Regions from separate parts of the Homo sapiens genome. Here region 2 is linked to region 1. The links are contacts of gene promoters, found by promoter capture Hi-C in blood cells and fetal thymus (Javierre and others, 2016). All regions are on one chromosome and are shown on one strand. Each heading gives the region's core, a stretch centred on a gene start or on the middle of the fragment in contact. The rest is flanking DNA. Distances are from core to core; before and after follow the strand shown. Region 1 holds the start of LINCMD1 (long intergenic non-protein coding RNA, muscle differentiation 1). Region 2 has its middle 30 kb from the start of TMEM14A.

Evidence for each region. Contacts are between HindIII fragments. The CHiCAGO score rates a contact against its expected background, and 5 or more counts as called.
Region 2: a contact is called between a fragment that was not itself captured here and the fragment with the promoter of LINCMD1 in region 1, in 7 of 17 cell types (non-activated CD4 T cells, naive CD4 T cells, naive CD8 T cells and 4 more). The highest score is 6.5, in non-activated CD4 T cells.

What each region holds. Positions count from the first base shown.
Region 1 is chr6:52,148,930-52,153,338 of GRCh38, forward strand. It overlaps LINCMD1 (long intergenic non-protein coding RNA, muscle differentiation 1), which reads right to left and starts at 2,094. Exons shown (of 3, transcript NR_131248.1): 1 at 1,953-2,094. It overlaps MIR133B (microRNA 133b), which reads left to right; the gene lies at 1-112. RefSeq lists an enhancer at 3,922-4,216. The HindIII fragment of the contact is 4,773 bases long and covers 1-2,505 here.
Region 2 is chr6:52,698,498-52,703,411 of GRCh38, forward strand. No RefSeq gene overlaps it. Among named protein-coding and RNA genes, the nearest start is that of TMEM14A, 30 kb to the left of the region's middle. The HindIII fragment of the contact is 238 bases long and covers 1,563-1,800 here.

The sequences.
Region 1 (4,409 bases), core at 844-3,343:
AGAAAGATGCCCCCTGCTCTGGCTGGTCAAACGGAACCAAGTCCGTCTTCCTGAGAGGTTTGGTCCCCTTCAACCAGCTACAGCAGGGCTGGCAATGCCCAGTCCTTGGAGAAACAGAAGAGATTCAACTGCAACTGAAATTACCTACTAAAACTTTCCTTGAGAAAACAATTCTGGTTTTTTCACCATATTCTTATGCTCCCAGGAAGGAAGAGAAGAGGAGTCCTGGAGTCAAAAGTGAGCAAGATTTTAATGCTCAACACACACTGTTCTGTGCCTTTGCACTCACAGCTGCAGCCACTTACATGCTTTTGACAGACACACAGTCAAGAAAGAGTTTGAGGATGGAGTTTGTGCCAACCCTAAGCCAGCCAGGGGAAGAGCATGAGACATAGAAGACAGGGCTCCTGCTCACTAGGGGCTAACAGTCTAAGGAAAGAAATTAGACATGTATATATGGTGTGATCCAATTGAATTGCAAGTTATAGCATGGCTAGTTCCAAGGCATAATTCTTACCTATCCCACCAAATATGCCTAGCACATTATGTATCATCAAGTCTCTATTGATCTATTCAGCCCAAGATATCTATTCACTAAGCAATCATTTCTCAGTTCCCTGATCTGTAGAATAGGGATAATAGTACCTGTCACACCAGGCACAGTGGCTTATGCCTAAAATCTCAGCATTTGGGGTGGCTAAGACAGGGGATTGCTTGAGGCCAGGAGTTCCAGATCAGCCTGGTCAACATAGCAAGATGCTGTTTCTACCAAAAAAAAATTTTTTTTGTTTTAATTAGCTGAATGCGGTAGTGCACACCTATAGTCCTAGCTACTTGGGAGGCTGAGGCAGGAAGATCACTTAAGTCCAGGAGATGGAGGCTGTAATGAGCTAAGTTCTCATAATCGCTACCTTTTACTAAGGGAGAATTCTGACCTGTCCTTCCAGTTTATCTTTTAAGATTTGTATCTTTTATGGTGTGTGTCTGGAACTTAGACAGTAATAAGTAAATATTTGGGTTTAAAATTCTATAGACATGTGTGTTCACATGCTGTATTCTGACACAAATGGGGTAGCATAAGTGCCTAGAGCCCACCACAGTGACCTCAGAGGAGAACACAGAGCTTACTAGCACAAATCTTTGCATTCAGGAAGACCTGGGGTTGAATGCTGCCCCTCTAATTTATTAGCTGTGATATATCCTCTCCGCAGCTCAATTAACATTGCACAAGCCTTAGTTTACTCATCTGTAAAATGGGGACAATGATACCAACCTCAGTTACCGTAAGGCTTAAAACAGACAGTGTTAATAAAGAGCCAAATATAAGCCCTTAAGAAATAGTAGCTGTTGTTTTACTGCTGTAAATGGCAACAGCACAAGGACAATGCTGTGTCCACAGGCACTTGTATGTAGAAGGAAAGAGCCAAATTAAAAAAAAAATAGGAGAAGAACTCAAAAAATACATAAAGGCTCATTGCTCACTGTAGGGTTTTGTTTTTTGTTGTTGTTGTTTTGTTTTTGTTTTTGTTTATTTTTTGAGACAGGGTCTCACTCTGTTGCCCAGATAGGAGTGCAGTGGCACGATTTCAGCTCACTGCAACCTCCGCCTCCCAGGCTCAAGCGATTCTCCTGCCTCAGCCTCCCAAGCAGCTGAGATTACAGGCACGCACCACTACCACCCGACTAAGTTTTATATTTTTAGTAGAGACAGGGTTTCACCATGTTGGCCAGGCTGGTCTTGAACTCCTGACCTCAAGTGATCCGCCCGCCTTGGCCTCCCAAAGTGCTGGGATTACAAATGTGAGCCACCGTGCCCAGCCTATAGGGTATTTTTATATTCCAACTATTAATTCTACTAGCATGTAGCATACATGCATTCACCCTAGTACATATGACTAGCATATAATATGCTTTACTTTTAAAAAATGCTTTATACATGAGACTGATCTTACCATCTTCAATATCCTGTCTGGAAAGCCTTCATTTGTGAGTGCTGTTGAGATCACATGTCCTCCCAAGTAGGACATGGAGTGTGAAGGCCATTGAGTGGGTGTTCCAAAGGGCAGCACAGAATGGAGTTTAGTTGAAGGTGCTGGGGACACACTACCTGGGCTCAAGTCCCAGCTCCCCACTCTCCAGCTGTGCCACTTGAGCAAGTTGCTTGACCTCTCCAGGCCTGGGTTTCCTCATCTGTAAAGTAGGAATATTGATAATAATATCTACTTCATAGAGTTTCATGAGAATACATGTAAAGGCCTGAAACCAGTATTGGGTACATAATAATACATTCTTAAGAGTCTTTATTTCTGACAATGTACCTGAAATGTTCCTGAAATTAAGTTGGTGTTCAATAAAAACATGTTCACTGAAAGATCAGCTTCTTTGTTTATTTTAAGCACAAACTATGGGATCATGTAATTTTTGGTTCAACTATTTCTACTTATCTCTTTCAATGCAGCACACTGGTTCAAAGCAGTAGTAAGGTGTGGGGGAAGGATGGCAACAAGCTTCTCTCTGCTTCCCAGGTCTGTGATGAAATGGAACTTCCCTGCGAACTAGGGGTATGCCTCTGGGAGTAGAAGCAGGGTGATCTTGAAGCGCAGTCGCAGAGCTGTCACCCGGAAGTCACCTGGCAGAACAGAAAACAAACATGATGTGGCCAAATACCAGCTGTCCTTAACAGGAGGGATCTTTTCCATCTGGAAGGGCAGAGGTCATGTAGGTAAAGATTAGATAACAATGCCAGGTATAGGTAAAAGGAGTGTTAAAAAAGGGTCACTTTCATATTTGGGATATTATGGCTAAAATGCCTGATAAAACTGGACAAGACATATAAGGCTAAGACTAAATAATGTCTTCTCTCTGTTAGAAAGAAGCCAGCCAGGCCAGGCATGAGGGTTCTTGTCTATAAATCCCAGCACTTTGGGAGGCCAACGCTGGCGGATCTCTTGAGCTCAGGAGTTCAAGACCAGCCTGAGCAAAACTCCATCTCTACAAAAAATACCAAAAATTAGCTGGGCACAGGGATGGGGACGCTGAGGTGGGAGGATCGCTTGAGCCCAGGAGTTTGATTGAGGCTGCAGTGAGCTGCGATGGCACCACTGCACTCCAGCCTGGGTGACAGAGTGAGACCCTGTCTCAAAAACAAAAGAAAAAAAAAGAAGGAAAGAAGAGGGAGGGAGGTAGAGAGGGAGGGAAGGAGTGAGAGAGGGAGGGAAGGAAGGAAGGAAGTTAAGAAGGGAGAGAGGGAGGGAGGGAGAGAAAGAAGGTAAAGGAAAGGAAGGAAGGAGAGAGAAAGGAATAAAGAAAAAGAAAAGGAGAGGAGGGGAGGAGAGGGAAGGGGAGCAAGCTAGCACACTTCTGGCAAGGGTTGGAGAACATGAGTGAACATTGTCATCCAACTTTCTACCTATCCCCTTGCCCTCAAGGGTCTTTGCAGAACACATCTTTGAGGGCCACAGGATGGAAGGAGTTCTAGTCATAGCCTGCCTCCAAAGTCAAAATATCGTACTGTCCCCTCTTATTCACTCCTGGAGAATTCAACTTCCATTCACATTTCTGTTTGATTTTCCTTAAACCAGGAGGGGAGCAAATGTATTCCTGCTCCCACTCACCACTATAAAAAGACAGAACCTTTAAGAAAACATGTTTTCTGGTAAGTTTGAATGACCTTGATATCCATGTTCAAAGGTCCCACAAGCCCAAACTCTCCATTTCCGTAAGAAATCAAGAGGAATCAGAGAATGGGGACTGCTGCCCACGGGTTGCGGTTGCTCATCCTGCCACAGCCCCTCTTCAGGGCAGAAATCTAGGTTAGGCCACCCAGTGGGGTGTGTGGTTTTGTGATTGCTGCTGTGTCCCTTTATGTGTGTTCCTGTATCATCATCAGTCCTGTGCCAGTAAGTGGCAGCCCATGATGTCACACCGGTCAAACATGACGACTCTTGGTCACCCTCAGAATGGACCCCACCCCCACATCTGGTGAGTGTTGGGAGGAAGAAAGTGATAGCACAGGCGTGCTGAAGGAGCTCTTCCCCGGAAGGAGTTGACGGAAAATAGTGCGGGGCTATCTAACTGGCAGGAATCCAGACAAACAAGAAAATCCCATTAGTGCAGTCCATCAACGAGTTTCTTTCTGATGGTAATTCCCAGGGCTGGCAAGACTGTTAGAAAACAGCAGCTCATACATAGCTGGGAGTGAATATAGGTCTATACTCTTCAAAGCATCATTTATCAATACATAGGCATCAAGAAGGCTATTATCTTCTCTGCCCAGAATCTTCTCTTTCTCTGTTAACAGCTCAGTCTCCCTCCCTTGGCTATTCTTTTTTTTTTTTTTTTTTTTTTGAGATGGAGTCTTGCTCCATTGCCAGGCTGGAGCGCAGTGGTGCAATCTCAGTTCACTGCAA
Region 2 (4,914 bases), core at 432-2,931, 550 kb after region 1:
GCTGTCGTTTTCTGGATCTTACGAAAGCAAGGAAGTTTTTATATAAAACCAAAGCAAAGGGTTTACTGAACTCAGTTGATTGAGAAATATCTATAGTCTACTATTGTGCAGATATAACTTGCCTGGTAAACTTTTCAGCCGCAATTTGAATGCAGGCTACTCCCCTTAATTGGCTCAGATAAGTTACTCTCTTCTAATTTCAGTTTCCTAACATGTGAAATGAAGCTAATACCTACTGGTGGTGCTGTCATGATGGTTAAATGACATGATGTATAGTAAAGACTAACTCCCATCTTGGCTCAGTATTTGACCTTTGTTATTTTTTTTCTCATAACTTTCCCTTGGGTGGTGTTTGTTACCCCTTATTCCTAGTGCTAAAGAACAGGCAAATATTTGATTGTCTCATTACATACCTTCTCTTTAAGCCAAAGAGGCTTAGACATAGGAATTAAGTTGCAGCTAATCTTAGAAGTTACTTGGTAACAATCTAATAATAAAACAAAATTAACTTAAAAGATCCTTTGTTGCATATTTAAAGAAACATAAATCAAGCTATCTTTTCTTACCACTCACAAGAGTTTTTAATCAGTGTTATTGTTAGATTGTTACCAATTAACTTCTGGATACTTTCGCTTTAAAATACATTTACCAATTAAATGTGTGCATTTTGTATAGCATAATTTTAACATAAAATTGAAATACAATTAGTTTTCCTGTATTATTAATATTTTCTAGCATAGAGATGTAAAAACCCAACAAAAACTGGAAAATATTATTTTTCCCAGATTGTATTCTATCCGTTTTACAATAAAAAATAATTTGAAATGTTAAATTTTACAATTTGGAGTAATAAAAAATATTCAGAGAAGATGCTAATACATAGCTTCCTGGTCATAATTCCTAAGTACTTAATGTTAAATAGTGTTAAACCTTGATGTCCTATCACTCTCATTCCTATACCTGAAGACCAGCATTAACTTCAACTCTCAAACACAAGAGTAAGAGACATTTCAGTCTCAGGGAATTCTGCCATTTTTATAAGACAAAGAAGATGGATGTAAAGCTCTCTTCCCCTTATTTATTTAAAAATATTTTCAATATTATTGCAGAAGTGCTAAAACTCATTGTAGAAAAATTAGAAAATACGGATAAAAATTTTCAGCCACCCATATTGGCCTTTCTCTAAAAATGAGCAGATGTTTAGTAGACATATTATTTTCCTTATGACTATGTCTTAATGAACAGAAATGTGGCATTCAGAAGTAGAAATTGGATGCTTACTAAATTTAAAAATAATCTGTATGCAAGGGTAGAGTGTGAGTGTGAATATGGGGAGGGAGTTCGTCTTTATCCCCTCTGCTCTTTGTTTTTGCAAAATAAGTTCTCTCTGGGTCTGCTTTACAATCCCCAGTACTAGATGTTTTCTCTTCACTACCTTCGATGCTCCAAAACACTTCCATGTTTCAGAGAGTTGGTGGGTCTCTTTCTCTCTCTCATATTTTCACCAGGAAAAAAGGAAAGGCAGCAGCTGACATTATAATATTGGAGCTCTTCTTAACCAAAGCTTCCTTTGGATGCTTAGGAAGCCTAGAGAGGTCAAGTGACTTGCCTAAAGTCTTTCAGCTAAATGGTAGAAGAACCAGAGCTAGGTTGCCCTCTCACCAAGCCTACTACATCTTCAATATTATCATCTTGGTAAATGTGTAATTTTATGTAAATAATTATTATAAAAGGAAGTCATCATATTCCAAAGTTAACAAATATGAGAATATGGACAGTGATTACCAAGGTATAAAACAAAGCTTTCCAAAAAGCAGCATTTTTTTCCTAAACATGCTTTACTTTACTTATTTTTTCCTAAGCACTATTTACTTACAACTTACAATATTTATGAAGTGTGATGAAAAATGCATACATTTGTGATTTCAGTTTCTCCTACAATTTTTCATGTCAGGAACTCTGAGGTAACTTAGGCTATCTGATCCGGCGAGTCTCCAAGAATCAGAGAGGCAGAGCTCAATCTCCAATTCCAACAAGGGCTTTACCAGGGTAAGCCCTGAGAGGAGGTGGGCAGACCGCGGGAGGGTGGCAGGTTGGAGGGAGAGGTAGGGTTGTGGGAAATAGGAGGCAGTCCAGCCTGCTGGCATTCACAGTTCTAGGTCTGGACATGAAACTATATGGGGTACATCCAGATTTCTCAGACTAGATACTATCTGAAGAATTTTCTGCTACGTTTTGATTGAGTTTCGCCGGATCACACCAAAGAGGTTTCGCTCCTGAACTTTTAAAAATCTTCAATTTTATCTTTTGCTTAAAGGCTAATTGTGTGAGGAGCTGTGTTAGGTACAGCAGGGGCTCCAAAGACAAGCAAAGCACAGCCATTTCAGCAAAATTGTAAATCTTAGAGCATAATTATTAAACTTTTGAAAATTTACTCTGACTCATAACACAAGGAAATTTCAGGCACAGGAGGTGGCTATTGGCTACGGTCATGTGCTACATAATATTTCAGTCAACCATGGACTGCTTATACAATGAGATTATAATACTATATTTTTACTGTAACTTTTCTATGTTTAGATACACAAATACTTTTTTTTTTTTTGAGACACAGTTTCACTCTTGTTGCCCAGGCTGGAGTGCAATGGCATGATCTTGGCTCACTGCAACCTCCGCCTCTCGGGTTCAAGCAATTCTCCTGCCTCAGCCTCCCAAGTAACTGAGATTACAGGAATGCGCCATCATGCCCAGCTAATTTTGTATTTTTAGTAGAGACAGGGTTTCTCCATGTTGGTCAGGCTGGTCTCAAACTCCCAAACTCAGGTGATCCACCCACCTCAACCTCCCAAAGTCCTGGAATTACAGGTGTGAGCCACCTCAACCGGCCTCACAAATACTTATTATTGCATTACAGTTTCCTACAGTATTCACTACAGTAACATGCTGTTCAGGTTTGTAGCCTAATAGTAATAGACTGTACCATAAAGCCCAGGTGTGTAGCAGTCTTTACATCCGGGTTTGGGAGAATAACCTCTATGTTGCTCACATGACAAAATTACCTAATTATATATTTCTCAGAATGTATCCCATTGTTAAGTAATGCATGACTGTCTAGAATTTCCATCTAACTCTGACAAACCATAATAATACCAACCCTAAGTCTAAAAAATGGTGAGGAATCAGAAGATCCAATAAAGAGCTTCATATAGCTCAGAAAAGAGAATTGGCCTTTTATTGTTTTGTAAAAATTAGGTCATCAGAAGAAGCAATGACAAATTCAGCTTTTTAAAAAATTACACTAAAAATATTTAATGCCCTCCAAAGATACTGGAGTGTTTTTGATAGGTAGGCTTTGGATTCACATTGTCTTCTGTGCATGTTTTATCATATTTTATTCTGATCTAATTCTAATGCAACAATACCTAAACATTGAAATTTTGAAAACAATTATAAAGGAATGAACCGGAGTCTTCCTCCACCCCCTCTCTTTCTCCCTCGGTCTCATCATTTGTCCATCTGTCATCTATCCATCTCAAAAAGGACAAATTGCAAAAACATAATATTGATTGTAAAGAGGAAAATACAGAATAGTACACAAAAGGAGCCGTTTATGTAAATTATTTCCAAAGGTCCACAAGTCAGAGGTTGGTGAGCCCACATAGTAAGTGCAAAAATATAAAGACTGGACTGACTGGATAGAAGTTGCTTAAGTGGAGATGGAGGTGATGGTTCTATTAAATTTTAGACTTATTTGTTAGTATTTTATATTTTAAACAAGATTATATTAATATATTAACTGTGGAGTTTCTTTCTTGTTAGAGACAGAGTCTTGCTCTGTTGCTCAGGCTCGAGTGCAGTGGCACGATCATACCCCAATGCAACCTCAAACTTCTAGGCTCAAGCAATCCACCTGCCTCAGCCTCCTGATTAGCCAGGTCTACAGGCATGTGCCATCATGCCCAGCTAATTTTTAAAATTTTTATGTGGAGACGGGGTCTTGCTATGTTTCCCATGCTGGTCTCCAACTCTTGGCCTCAAGGAATCCTCCTTCCTTGGCCTCCCAAAGTGCTGGGATTACAGGTGCCTACCACCACACACAATTCTGTCTGTGTTTTTAAAAAATATATATTGAAGGTAAACATGACAAAATATTAATAATTACTCAAACCAGGTAGTGAGATCATGTTTGTTTATTGCAATATTCTTTGTACTTTTCTTTGTGTACTTTCAAAAATTTCATTTAAGACTTAAAAATTCAAACCAAAAGATTAGAAAAAAAATGGTGATGAACCTTTTACAAAGATTTTTTTTGCATTATTGTAGCACTATCAGATTACATAAAATTGTACATTTCACAAAATATTTAAATATAAACCATGTTCTGGGCTGCATTCATATAAAGTATCTCCATTTCTAGAGAACAAATGAACTTAGTGCCTTCTGTCAGGGGTAAAACAGTGTATAGAACATTTTAGTGAATATCAAGTCACCGGGGTTACTTGCTGTCCCCATGTTAAACCACAGTGGAGCTGGACACAGGCTTAAAGAAAATTCCCTGCTCCTTCATCTTTGAATCTAAGAGACCATTTTGGAATGACTACAGAAATTTTTTTGAATGGGTTACAGAAGAGGCTGATTCCTTATATTTACAATTAATATGCATATAGAAAAAGATTTATTTTTGAAAGGTCTTTATGAACTTCAATAGCTTAGCTTTTAAGTATGTTGAGAACAGAGTTTTTAAAAATCCATTAAAAAATAGGAGACATATTTTTGGCAGTGAAAGATAATGCTCTTGTGTCAGTACCTACAAGATTGTTCTATACTTTTAAAGAAAATGATCTGTTTCTTATTATTCTTGAGACAAATGTAGTTAAATGAATGCAACACCTGGATGGTAAGAATGAAGTGAGA